Linked DNA regions of Homo sapiens: all the other regions are linked to region 3. Evidence: promoter capture Hi-C in 16 types of primary human blood cells and fetal thymus (Javierre and others, 2016). All regions are on one chromosome and are shown on one strand. The core of a region is centred on a gene start or on the middle of the fragment in contact, and the rest is flanking DNA. Distances in the headings are between cores, read along the strand shown. Region 1 holds the start of DMRTA1 (DMRT like family A1). Region 2 has its middle 190 kb from the start of DMRTA1. Region 3 holds the start of CDKN2B-AS1 (CDKN2B and CDKN2A antisense cis and trans regulatory RNA 1).

Region 1 (4,635 bases), core at 194-2,693, 450 kb before region 3:
TTGCCAAGTGGAAATAGATTAGCATTAGTCCTCCATTCCACTTTACTTGTAAATATGAATGAGCATGCCCCCGAACATGTCAATTATCAACATTTCATCTCTATAGCAATTTATGCATGAAATCATAAAATAATGTCTTGTTATATTTTACTCACAGTACAATATATGTAATGAAATACCAATTTGCATAAGATTATTTAGAAAATATGGTGTCTTTAAAATATAATACCACTTATATCGTCTCTCTGTCTTCTCAAGTCCTACAGCTTGCTTTACTTCTATTGCATTTATCATTGTATATTAAGCCTTGCATTGTAGTTTTTGGATACATATAGTCTGCCTTCTTTTGAATATAAGGTTCTTCTGTGTAGGAAAAACTTGTTCACTTCTAAATCACTGTTAGTCTTTGTCTAATGAATGAGTAAATTAAATAGACTATTTTACCACAGTTCATGGCTATTGTGTAAGAGAACCAGTCAATTTAGAAAGCTATTGAAGTAACCTTTCAAACATTAGCTTGCTTCTTATGGGGGAGGGGGCATCATCTGAGGCAAAGAACAAAGTAAAATAATTAGCTCTATAAAACAGAACACTTTGGTACCAACTAGAAATCACATAAATCAGTGTCTCACAGGGAGATGTCAGCCATTTCACTATCGGTGTAGTTTCAGGAATTCTCACTTTTACTTCTCTTTCATAGCACTTTTACTTAATAACTGTGCTCTTTAGCACCTTCATCTTTCATGGGAATTGTAGAAAGTCTGTTTTGCCTACTCAAATAAATTAGAATATGTGCAAAAGTTGACACATGCAAACACAAAATTCACTCTGAACTGAATGCCTCATTTCAATTCACAGAATTTTTCGAATGTACTGTGTGAGTAGAACTTCAAGCAGCCATTGAGCGAAAAAATCTGTTGAGATCTGCAATTTTCATAATTCAAGGAAGGTTTCTAATTAATAGTTTACTGTATAGCTATCATACAATTTCATATAATACAGCTTTATAAGTTTTGTATAAGTTTTTGACTTATACAAAAAAAAAATCACAATGATATTTTCACTGCTTAGTAGGCCCTGTGGAGGGCTATGAAGTTCACTAAAATATATCTCCTAACGCAGGAAATGAAGGCAACTGACTCGCAGTCAAAAAATAAGAGAAAAATAATGAAAACTCCTTGGATAAAAAACCTCTAATATTGAACTTTGAAATTCTTACCTATGGTTTTACAAATTACATTTTGCGAAAACAATTTAGAGTGAAGAAACAAAGAAAGACGATGGTTTGGTAGATTTCAGTCTCTTCCCCACATCAAGCTTGCAACAAATGTTTGCCCCAACATGTAGTAAAGAACTGCATCCCCAACTATCAGAGTTTCCCACGCAAAATCAGCTCTGGTTTTACAGCTGAAAACAGTCCAGAGCAGGGAGGATCACCTGAGCCTGGGGAGGTTGAGGCTGCAGTGAGCTGTAATGGCGCCACTGCACTCCAGCCTGGGCAACAGAGTGAGATCCTGTCTGGAAAGAGTACAGAGCAGACTCAAACACAGCACCTCTTACGAAGCTTTTCGCTCAATGCCTGCTTGAAGTTCTACTCACACAGTGAAAGTCAAATCAACTTCCGAGTAAATAACTCTACTCCTAGGGTGAATTGCTCATTTGTTACCACCCATGCTTCATTTTTTCATTATCTCATCCTATCACCTGAGGGAACAACAGTAAATTCCTCCAAAGTGAAGGCGATGGGGTCTCTCACACTCTCATTAATGTCCATATTGCTGAGCAGTTCCCCAAAACTTAAAGTGTTTCTTTTAAACAACTATTCCTGCCCGCCTATGGACACGGTGGCTTGTTTCAGAGTTTCTTTCCAGAACAACCATTCCTTGAGCAAAGAGTAAATCAAAGACCAACTCACCTTGTTTTTCCTCAGGATAATCTTGCTGGAAAACTTCGAAAGCGGGGGTCGCGGAACCACTGGCCTGTCTCAAGGCACCCAGTCCCAGCGCAGCCCCCGCCGCAGGGCCGCCCGTGGACTGTGGATTCTCGGCTCTGCCGCCGCCCCCGGATGCCCGACCACCGGGGGGCCAGGAGAGCCCCGAGCACAGGAGCCTCTGTAGCCCCCGGGCTTCGCTCTCCTCCTGCGCCTGCTGCCTGCGCAGCGCCACCTGGGCGGCCATGACGCGCTGGCGCTCGGCGATCAGGGTGCACTTGGCACACGCGCAGTCCCGCCAGCGGCAGAAGCGCTTGTGGCCCTTGAGCGCTGACACCACACCATGGTTACGACAGCGGGCGCACTTGGGCGTCCGCGGGTAGCCGCAGCCCACCGCGCCTACCCCGCTCTCCAGCCCGGGAGCCGGCGGGCAGCCTCCGCTTCCCGAGGTGGCGGCAGCGGCGGCGGCGGCCGCGGCCGCTGCTCGCAGAAAGAGGCTGGGCGGCCGCAGGAACGCTGGGGGAACCTGCATCCCCGATGGTACCGGCAACGCCGGGGACGGGGGCGGAGGGGCAGCCACCACTAGCCCAGGGGCCAAGTGAGGTCGGCCGCTAACGCCTCGGTCTCTGCTGCCACACTGTGACCGCTCCATTCCCGAGAAATTTCTGGCCGGGAGTCCCAAGTGGAAAGTGCGCTGACCGCAGCTAACCCTGCTGGGAGGCTGGGGAAGCCGGGGCAGGACGCGCCGTGGTCCTACTGAGCTCCACCCGCGCACGGACAAAAGTTTTACACTCTTTCCACTCGGAAGGAGTTGGGACGACCGCGTCCTGGAGCTGGAGACGCTGAGAGGTGCAGCTGTCCCGTGAGCCTGGCAGAGACCCCGGGCGCTAAGTTAATGCCTTTGTGCCTCCAGCCAAGAAGGCAAGGCTAGAGAGGCTACCCCGCCCACCCAGGCTCCCGGCCCAGCGCGGAAGCCGGGGGAGGGCCCGGGGCGGGGAGTGGGGACCTTCTGGGAGGAGGGCGGCGGGGAATCCGTCCAATGGGCTGCAAATGTCTCCTCCCCCAAAAAAAGCCCGTTTCTACTTGCTTCCCTAGGAGTTCTCGACGTCTATTTTTGTAAACTAGCCTTTGCAGCCTCCCCTTTTACTGCCCTTTTGAAATTAAGCAGAGTTTGAATTTCTCCTTTTCCCACTTCCACGCTTCTCCTAAGAAAGTCTGAAGATTTGGATTTTGAGTTCTCCTTTCGGGTTCCCAGATGAAGTCTTCATGTCTGCAGCAGTTTGGCCAATGTTAGTGGGATCCCAGCTTGATAGACTACGAATTTGTTACCCACCAGAAAGATGCCTTATTTTAAATGGGTCTTAGGACAGCATCAAAACAATGGATAAATAACTAAGGGAAGTGATTCACATTCAGATTCTTTTCATGCATTCTATTTATTTACACATGCGAATTTGGGTTGTGTGTACTCTATTTTAAAATACTGCTACTTTAAAAAAGTTATCAAACTCTTCTCTGCGCCTATTTATAGGCAGCGATTGTGTTAAAGCTGTTTCAAAAATACTTATGTCTATTGTAAAGTATTGGGGAAAGTCGTTTAGATCATTATTTAAATATGCTGTCATGAATGCATTCTTCACATATGAATTTAATGCCTTTAATTATAAGAAAAGACCATAAGGCGTTTAAGTCAAAAGAGCATCTGAGATAGAAAATTCATGAATGTTTATTCTTAATGGAAGGTAGCGTCAGCACTCTGCCAGCTCTTCAAGATGGTATCCAACTACCTTGGACAAGTTATTCATTTTCCATCCCTAAGATAGCAATTAATAATGATATTTTTACCATTCCACCTGTTCACATTCAGAGCAGATATTGCTGATCTATCTGGCCTTTCTCCTACCAACCTACTCAACACCATCACCACCACTACCATCCTCTCATACAAACATCCTATCGTAGAAGTTTTCCACCCTTCCTAAGAACTGGAACTACCTAGGGAACTTTTAAAAGAGATGGACACTCCAATCTACGTAATGTATTCTGATTCTTTTTGTCTGTGTCTTAAACTCTGAAGGTGAAAATTACATACAATGTTTAGAACTACCACTCAAGGAATTCCTAACCTCTGGGGGTTCTATGATATCCAACCTTTCTCACAACTCTTTATCTTTGTTCAAGCTACTCCTGCCTAAAATGTACTGATGCCCTAACTGTGGACTCACATCCGTCCTTTGAGAGATGAGTTTTTAGTTCTAAATGGATCATTAAAATACAATGAATTACCTAACGAGAAAGCAATTTTCTTTTCTATTCTTTTTAGGAGCTTCAGGTTACATAATGGGAATGTTCAGCTTAATGCAAATATGTCTTTTAAATTTTTAAAATACCTTTTAATTGTGTTTTTCAATAACAACAACAAAGAGCAGCAAGTAAAATGTTTACCTAGAGTTTAGCGATATTTTTCTGTTTTTATTTGATTTTTAAAGTTATCTTATAATTATGGAAAGTGATATTGGTTTTCCTCCAAGGAAGTAAAAATAGTTTTTAAATAAATGTATTTAAGTTAAATATTTGTCAATTTAAATGAAGAATTATGCAGATAATGCATACATCGCCAAAAAATTGAGGTCTGGAAAACATTGTCTTGGTGGTTTTGGAGTCAAAAAGTGTTGCTCTCAAATTCTGGATCCACTTTTAGTAAG
Region 2 (4,572 bases), core at 299-2,798, 260 kb before region 3:
ATTCACTTCCCTGGACCAGCAGCTTGAGCTGCCCCACCCTTCCTGGAAATAGATCATGTTGCAGAGAGGCTCTGTCTTCTCCACACCCAAGCAGATATTTAAGAATTCAGAGCACCTGTTTGACTTGTTCAGCAGACTGAGCCACCCTACCCTTCCTGGACATAGACTGCAATGAAGTGGAGTTTTCTCTTCTCCATGCCCAGGCAGGTATCTGTCTCCAGGCATTTAAAGCACTCATTTACTTGGTTCAGCAGCCTGAACTGCCTCACCCTTCCTGGACCTAGATCTTGGTACAGTAGGGCTTTCTCTGTGCCCCACCCTCACAGATCTCCAGGTGTTCAGAGCACCAGCTCACCTGGATTAGCAGGCTAAGCTGTCCCACTTTTCCTGTGCAGATATCCTGGCACACCTCTCTACTACATGCTCAGGCAGATCTCTAGGCATTAGGAGCACCTGCACAAGCAGATATCCAGGCATTCAGGGCACCATTCATCTGGATCAGCAACCTGACCTGCCCCACCCTTCCTGTGCAGAGATCCTGGTACAGGGATAATCTCTCTGCTTCATACCCAGGCAGAATGCCAGGCATTTGGAGCAACCACTCATCTGGTTCAACAGCCTGAGCCACCCCACCCTCCTTGGACATAGATCATGGTGCAGCAAGTCCCTCTCTGCTTCAGGCCCAAACAGATCTCCAGAAATTCAAAGCACATGCATGCCTGGTTAATCAGTCTGTCACCCAACCCTCCTGTTCAGAGATCTTGGTTCAGGGGATCCTCTCTGCTCCATGCCTATACAGAGCTCCAGGCACTTAGAGTGCTTACCCTTCTGGATTAGAAGCTTAGGCCATCCTCCAATTTTGTGCAGAGAACCTGGAGCTGAAGCACTGTTCCAGCTCCATCCCTAGGCACACCTGTGAGTATTTGGTGGCTGCTCACAGGACTCTCCCTTGGTGCTGGTGCCTTCGCCTGCCATCAGGAGACCAATAGGTGGACCTGCCCAGTCATCCCCTGACCCTTTATGGTCTTTGCTGCTCTGGGGCTGGTCAGGGAGCTCAGACCACTGTACACGCCATGAATCAGCCTATTGTCTTAGGCAATAGGGAGTTTCTGCCAGTAAATAAGAATCAAGTATATACCCAGACACGTTGGCCACAGCCAGCTCTTACCTGTAAATGCCATCAATAGCTTGTAGGTTGAACTCCACAGCCCAATATAAAATCAGCCAAAGTAAATGAATAAGGCTATGAAAGCAAAGCCAGAAGACCCTATCCAACATTCTCTACAGTCACATCCCCCCAAAATGGAGGGAAAAGGGAAAAGGAAAGAATAAAAATTATAATAATATTAACATTATAGAGAAAGCAAGAAGAAGAAAAAACTCTACCCACACAAAAATATTACAAAAATTTAAAGAGCTAGTGTCTCCATATGAGAAGGAACCAGCATAAGAATTCTGCCAGCATGAAAAATATGAAAGGAGTGACACCACAAAAAGACCACATCAGCTCTCCAGCAATGGTCCCTAACCAAAATGGAAATTCAGAAATGACACATAAAGAAGTCAAAGCATGGATTGCAAGGAAGGTTAATGAGATCCAAGACAACGTTGAAAATCAACACAAAGAAATTTATAAAGCAATCTAGAAAATGAAGGAAGAGATAAAGAAGTCAATTAGAGATTCTGGAATTGAAAAACTCACCTAAGAAACTTCAAAATACAACTGAAAGCGGTATCAACAGACTGTATCAAGCAGAAGAAAAAAAATTTAGAGCTTGAAGACTGTTTTTCTGAGCTGACACAGTGAGACAAGAATTAAAAAAAGAAGAATTTTTAAAAAATGAACAAAGTACTTGAGAAATATGTAATCATTCAAAGCAAACAAACATACAAATTATTTGGCATTCAATAATAGGAAATATATTTGAGGGAATAATTCAAGAAACTTTCTTAACCTTGCTAGACAGGTAAAAATCCAGATACAAGAAACTGATAGAACATCTGTAAGATACTATGCAAAATCAACATCACCAAGGCATACAGCCACCAGTCTGTCCAAGATCAACACTGAAGAAAAAATCTTAAAGGCAGCTAGAGAAAAAGGGAAGATCATGCACAAAGGGAACCCTGTTGGGCTAACAGCAGACTTCTCAGCAGAAACATTACAAGCCAGGAAACATTGGGGGCCTGTTTTCAGCATTCTTAAAGAAAAAATAATTCCATCTAAGAATTTCACATTCTGCCTAACTAAGCTTCGTAAGAGAAGGAGAAATAAGATATTTTCCAGACAAGCAAGGACTAAGGGAATTCATTAGCACTACACCAGCAATACAAGAGATTTTTAAGAGAAGTCTAAATATGGAAATGAAATAACAATATCTGCTACCACAAAAATACACATAAATACATATTCTGCAAACCCTATAAAATGATCACACAATATGTGACCCTATAAAGCAACCAGGTAACAACTTCATAATAAGATCAAAACCTCACATACCAATATTAACCTTGAATGTAAATGGCCTAAACACCTGACTTAAAAGACACAGAGTAGCAAGTTGAATTAAAAAAAAAAATCCATTAATCTGCTGTATTCAAGAGACCCATCTCACACATAACACCCTACGCTCAAAGTAAACGGTTGGAGAAAGATTGGCTGCACAAATAGAAAACAAAAAATAGCAGAGGTTGCTATTCTTATAGTAAAAAACAGACTTTCAACCAACAACTGTAAAGAAGAACAAAGAAGGGCATTCCATAAAGATAAAAGGATTTAATTCAATGAGAACACATAACTATACTAAATATATAGGCATCCAATATTTGAGCATCCATATTTATAAACTTAATAGACATCTACAGTATACTACACCTATCAACCCCAGAATATATTCATTAGCACACAGAATATACTCTAAGACTGACTACACGCTCTACCATAAGGCAAATCTCAATAAATTCAAAAAAATTAAAATTATACTATCAGACCACAGTGGAATGAAAATAGAAATTAATACTAGGATGTCTCAAAAACCACATAATTTCTTGGAAATTAAACAACTTGTTCCTGAATAACTTTTGGGTAGACAATGAAATCAAGAAAGAAATTTAAAAATTCTTTGTAATAGAGAAAAACAGGGACACAACATACAAAAATTTCTGGGATACAGCAAAAGCAGTGTTAAGAGGAAAGTTCATAACACTAAATGTCAACCTCAAGAAGTTAGAAAGATCACAAATTAATGATGTAACACTGCACCCAGAGTAACGAGGAAAACAAGAACTAACCCCAAAGACAGCAGAAGAAAATAAATAACTAAAATCAGAGCTGAACTGAATAAAAGAGAGACCCAAAAACTCCATATAAAAAAATCAATAAAACCAAAAGTTGATGATTTGAAAGGATAAACAAGATTGATTGACAGCTAGCTAGATTAACAAAGAAAGACACTATTTAATTTTTTTTCTTAGGGATACACCAGGCAGAATGGAGCAACTGAGATATCCTGGCAAATTTGATGAGGTCCCCAAGGTTTCTGATTTGGAAAACCTCCTCTAGCAATTACCTGAGGCTTAACATCTGGTAATTCTGTGCTACTGTAAGATAGTTCTTAGTTTACTGGGTCTGAAAAGCAGGATTTTTTTTTAGCCTCTGGTATTTCTTAACAGTTGATGGCTGTGTTATGATTACCTGATGATGTACTTTTAACCAACTGTATGTCATCCCAGGGGTTTGTCTGTCTTAAAGAACATTCAAAGAAAAGGAATGGCTAATCATATATAGGAGATCTTGTTAGCTGAGATTTAAGGGAGACTTAGAGAAAAGCTAACAGGAAAAGGATGTGCATTGTGGAGGAAGGGGTGGCGGCTGTAACAATACAAAAAACCATTATAAATAATAAAACTAGAAAAAAGATTTATGAAAACAGGTAAATGGCCATTTTAGCTAGTGGTCAAATCCTTGGGATTTGGAGCGACAAGGATAATTATGTGGATCTGCAAGCACTCTTAGTCAGAAACAGCAAAGGGTGTTTGTCTAACAGGCTGCAGGGGCAGAGAAGTGGTAGTGATAGCCACGGAAACACCATCACTGGGACAATTGGGTGCGACGAGGGGCAGCTGGATGGCCTGTGCACGCAGTGGAAGTGGGCAGGAATTTTAACATAACTGGTCACATCCATGGCTCTCTGCAGCTAGTTGTAAATTGAATTTTGTTTCTTTGGTATGTTTTTCACTGGGAAATTCAAAAAAAGATTAGCAAAGGAATTCACAACACTGACATGTTTTGGATGCTATGTAAAATGGATAAAAGAGTCATCAAGATTCAGGCATTTAAACCAATTCACCTGCTTTACTCCTTGGGATCTTTTATTATTATTATACTTTAAGTTCTGGGGTACATGTGCAGAATGTGCAGTATTGTTACATAGGTATACACGTGGCAGAGTTTAGTTTTGGAACTAAAATATTTGTATATTCACAATGCTTTCCCTGTGTCTAATAGCCTTAAGAGGTAAGTTTTTTTTCAAACATTATTATTGTGGATGTTCAACAAGGGTAAATATGTTT
Region 3 (4,662 bases), core at 1-2,500:
CCACTTCTTCAACTAGGCCACTAGGCCCAAGCGCATGAACAGGAAGCCACTGAGAAGCGGGCCACATTTCCAGGTTCCCGGAGCTGGGCCTAGTCCCGAATCCTCTGGCACACACCCACCCACTCAGGCCGCGGGTCCAGCCCGCGAGGTTTAGGACGGATCCAGGCAGACCGCAGGCTCCGGGTCGGGGCACCGGGTCAGCGCGCCGGCCTGAAGGCGGCGTCCTGGGCTCGACTTCCCGCGCGCGGAGAGCCGGCGAGCCCGCGTCCGAGTTCCTGGACGAGAGCCGAGCCTCGCTTAGACCGCGCTCAGGACCCGGCTCCTCCGCATTCTCCGGCTGCCCCTGTGTCCTCGACTCACCCCTCCTTTCTGCCGCTCCTTCCTTTCCTTGCCCTGCTTTTACTGTTCCCAAACAGGACCGCTTTTCCTGTCTCCCAGCTGGAAAGGAGGAAGGGAGAGAGTCCAGAAAGGATCGGTGATGTGGAAGAAAAGGGGAGGAGGGGACATGGAGGGGGAGACCGGAGAGAGAACGTACGCCGAGGAGTCAGGCGGCGGGATCAAGGGGAGTCGGGGTGTCTGGGCGCGGGGCAGAGCGTGGAGGCGGCAGCGGCCAACGGTCGCCAAGACAACCATTCTACGCGAGGACGCGGCGACAGGAGGGGAGCGGCCAGCAGGGGAGGGGAGCGCGGGGGAAGAGGAAAGAGGAAGAAGCGCTCAGATGCTCCGCGGCTGTCGTGAAGGTTAAAACCGAAAATAAAAATGGGCTAGACACAAAGGACTCGGTGCTTGTCCCAGCCAGGCGCCCTCGGCGACGCGGGCAGCTGGGAGGGGAATGGGCGCCCGGACCCAGCTGGGACCCCCGGGTGCGACTCCACCTACCTAGTCCGGCGCCAGGCCGGGTCGACAGCTCCGGCAGCGCCAGCGCCGCGCCGTGTCCAGATGTCGCGTCAGAGGCGTGCAGCGGTTTAGTTTAATTTCGCTTGTTTTCCAAATCTAGAAGAGGAGCGGAGCGGCTTTTAGTTCAAAACTGACATTCAGCCTCCTGATTGGCGGATAGAGCAATGAGATGACCTCGCTTTCCTTTCTTCCTTTTTCATTTTTAAATAATCTAGTTTGAAGAATGGAAGACTTTCGACGAGGGGAGCCAGGAATAAAATAAGGGGAATAGGGGAGCGGGGACGCGAGCAGCACCAGAATCCGCGGGAGCGCGGCTGTTCCTGGTAGGGCCGTGTCAGGTGACGGATGTAGCTAGGGGGCGAGCTGCCTGGAGTTGCGTTCCAGGCGTCCGGCCCCTGGGCCGTCACCGCGGGGCGCCCGCGCTGAGGGTGGGAAGATGGTGGTGGGGGTGGGGGCGCACACAGGGCGGGAAAGTGGCGGTAGGCGGGAGGGAGAGGAACGCGGGCCCTGAGCCGCCCGCGCGCGCGCCTCCCTACGGGCGCCTCCGGCAGCCCTTCCCGCGTGCGCAGGGCTCAGAGCCGTTCCGAGATCTTGGAGGTCCGGGTGGGAGTGGGGGTGGGGTGGGGGTGGGGGTGAAGGTGGGGGGCGGGCGCGCTCAGGGAAGGCGGGTGCGCGCCTGCGGGGCGGAGATGGGCAGGGGGCGGTGCGTGGGTCCCAGTCTGCAGTTAAGGGGGCAGGAGTGGCGCTGCTCACCTCTGGTGCCAAAGGGCGGCGCAGCGGCTGCCGAGCTCGGCCCTGGAGGCGGCGAGAACATGGTGCGCAGGTTCTTGGTGACCCTCCGGATTCGGCGCGCGTGCGGCCCGCCGCGAGTGAGGGTTTTCGTGGTTCACATCCCGCGGCTCACGGGGGAGTGGGCAGCGCCAGGGGCGCCCGCCGCTGTGGCCCTCGTGCTGATGCTACTGAGGAGCCAGCGTCTAGGGCAGCAGCCGCTTCCTAGAAGACCAGGTAGGAAAGGCCCTCGAAAAGTCCGGGGCGCATTCGGCACTTGTTTTGTTTGGTGTGATTTCGTAAACAGATAATTCGTCTCTAGCCCAGGCTAGGAGGAGGAGGAGATAACCGCCGGTGGAGGCTTCCCCATTCGGGTTACAACGACTTAGACATGTGGTTCTCGCAGTACCATTGAACCTGGACCTCCCTTCACACAGCCCCTCAATCGTGGGAAACTGAGGCGAACAGAGCTTCTAAACCCACCTCAGAAGTCAGTGAGTCCCGAATATCCTGGGTGGGAATGACTAAGACACACACACACACACACACACACACACACACACACACACACACACAGTAGGAAAGGTGTATTTCAAGCACACTTTCTTTCTCCTTGGGGAGAATTATTGCTAACCATCTAAGTTTTCTGGAGGCGGCCTTTTTTCTCCCCAGCCTCCCGGCGGGGTCACCCTCTCCCACCTTCCAGGAGAGTGGAGGACCCGTGAGATACGGGGCACGCAGGCAGCGACTTCCTGAAATGCTAACAAGGATCGTAGGATCAGTTACTGCTGCGAGGAGCAAGCACTTGCTTCTTGGGGGAGTTTTGCAGCCAACAGGGAAATGGGCTTTCTTTGTGAGTTAGAGGTAGAGGTCCGGCGGCCTGAGTGATTGAAACTGCTCGGGACAATGCTCGTATGTTTAGCAAACGACAGAACTGTAGAACTGTTCCTGAGAAATCCCAACTGATAGTATTTTAGTCATCTCAGACGACAGTTAGCACAGTTTAAAAATGAGGCCTACTTCTTGAAAAACAGAATCCAAGGTAGTTTTGTCCTCACATTGACAAATGTTGACACAGCCAGTGTAATTTCCTATAACCAGGAAAACTGAAAGAATATATGTACAGTTAAAATATGTACAATGCTAATTAAAACTTGTGTAATAAGTCTAAAAGTAATTTAATGAGGCTTCACTTTTATGACCGTCCTTGTGGTATGCTTCGCCAGGAATATATAGCTTCAAAAAGCAAAGGCCAGCGGAGGGGTAATTATTTTTTTACTGCAATGTTAATTGTCTCTTTGACATGGAAATATAAACCTGTTAAAACTATCAGTGTTTAATTTAGTGTCTCAATTTCTATTAGCAAAAATTTATAATCTATAGGATAAATGCACATTTTATTTTTTACTTTTCATATTATGCAAGTTAATTTTTTTAATTTAGTCAAAGGAGCTTATAAAGGATTTCAGGGCCTGTTGCTGGATTTGATTTTAATTCATTTTGAAACATTGACAAGACCCTGGTTGTTGTTTTTTTTAACAGTGGTTTATCCGTATCAGCAAAAGTTTAGCCACTGTGACCGGTAACTGTATGAATATAGTTCTTAATATTATTGTCTATATAAAAATATTTATTACTCTAGTTAATATTATTCTATATAAAATCATTTTGTTTAAATTATTAAGTTGCCTCTGAAAATCTGTAGTAACAAAGTAGAACATGTCAATGTATATAAATGCCATAATTATGTATTTTTTAGTTTAGGCCTATAAAACATAACATTGTGGTGATTTTAAGTTAGAGAAAATATTTTATAGTATGTTAATGTATATGCATGAAATGCAAAAATATTTAAATGATAGGTTCATTGAAATAGATCATTTTTTGTTATTTAGGTATAAATCAATTTTCAGGACGTATGTGAAAAGCGCAATCTTCAGGAAGTTTCTCAAGATAGAACACAGCTTGGATAGAATGTCTTGAAATATATGCAATTTTCCAATTTCATATGTAAAATGATATACATAATATAAAATCTAGCGGTGTTAATTATAATGATATGTAATTATATATTTCACATTAATATATTTTATGCCCATGGCTATATTGATTTGGGAATATATATGGATACTAATTATGTTAGGATTCATACAATTCCTTGAGAGGCACAAGTGCTAAAAATTACTTGTATGAATTATTTAATATCATTGCAAATAAGATGTTATTTTAACTTTTTTTAAGTTTCTGCAAATATGTTTATTATGACTTTTTATTTTTATATGATTGGAAATACATATACTAAAATTCCACGTTACCAGTTTCTTAACCACAGAAACCTGAAAAATTGCCATAGTTGATTTGTTACTTCTACCTTGGTGCATTTACAAAATAGTCATATTTTTATTATGAAGTTAAATATTCATTTGTTTATAGCTACTTCAGAAGGCTCAGGTTATTTTTTTCTTTAATAGCACAGAGTCCTCTCAAGGTAAGCACTGTGCAGTTAGTATAAACCATTATTCCCCATGTGTACATGATTCACAGTTTGTATTGTGTTCCAAGTGAACCATAGCCCTTTCAGAAATCAAGACTTATATTCATTTTACTTCTTTGAGTACTCTTGAATTTTAGAAAGTCCATTATGATCCTAAGGTAGCAACAACATAGCCTATTACCGTCTATGATGGTTTACAGATCTATTATTCCACGTTAGTTCATCACTATCAACTACCATGATAGAGTTAAGCTAAACCATTTTCCCAACATATGAAAAACTCCTATTACTAAAGTGATACAAATGGTATCAAAAATACTTTTTTATAGCAAGGTTCAACAGTGGGCCCAGTGCTTTTACACTTTTTCAAAAGTCCTTGGAGAAACAGAGAAAATCTCACTTGCCTTCTGTACTAAAACATTCTAGGCCGAACTAAAACTGAAACTTCATAGTAGAACACTGTAGGCCAGGGGTGTTCAATCTTTTACCTTCCCTGGGCCACA

What was found. Contacts are between HindIII fragments. The CHiCAGO score rates a contact against its expected background, and 5 or more counts as called.
Region 1: a fragment that was not itself captured here is called in contact with the fragment with the promoter of CDKN2B-AS1 in region 3 in 7 of 17 cell types (total B cells, naive B cells, M0 macrophages and 4 more); the score reaches 14.7 in total B cells.
Region 2: a contact is called between a fragment that was not itself captured here and the fragment with the promoter of CDKN2B-AS1 in region 3, in 1 of 17 cell types (naive B cells). The highest score is 5.7, in naive B cells.

What each region holds. Positions count from the first base shown.
Region 1 is chr9:22,445,013-22,449,647 of GRCh38, reverse strand. DMRTA1 (DMRT like family A1) reads right to left here and starts at 2,824. Exons shown (of 2, transcript NM_022160.3): 1 at 1,916-2,824. The coding sequence starts at 2,582. RefSeq lists an enhancer at 2,149-2,648. The HindIII fragment of the contact is 247 bases long and covers 1,320-1,566 here.
Region 2 is chr9:22,253,103-22,257,674 of GRCh38, reverse strand. No RefSeq gene overlaps it. Among named protein-coding and RNA genes, the nearest start is that of DMRTA1, 190 kb to the left of the region's middle. The HindIII fragment of the contact is 1,412 bases long and covers 843-2,254 here.
Region 3 is chr9:21,991,379-21,996,040 of GRCh38, reverse strand. It overlaps CDKN2B-AS1 (CDKN2B and CDKN2A antisense cis and trans regulatory RNA 1), which reads right to left and starts at 1,250. Exons shown (of 19, transcript NR_003529.4): 1 at 880-1,250. It overlaps LOC124902130 (a long non-coding RNA gene), which reads left to right and starts at 2,013. Exons shown (of 2, transcript XR_007061436.1): 1 at 2,013-2,155; 2 at 3,561-4,662. It also overlaps a transcript of CDKN2A not described here. RefSeq lists silencers at 797-996, 1,317-1,576. The HindIII fragment of the contact is 17,311 bases long and covers 1-4,662 here.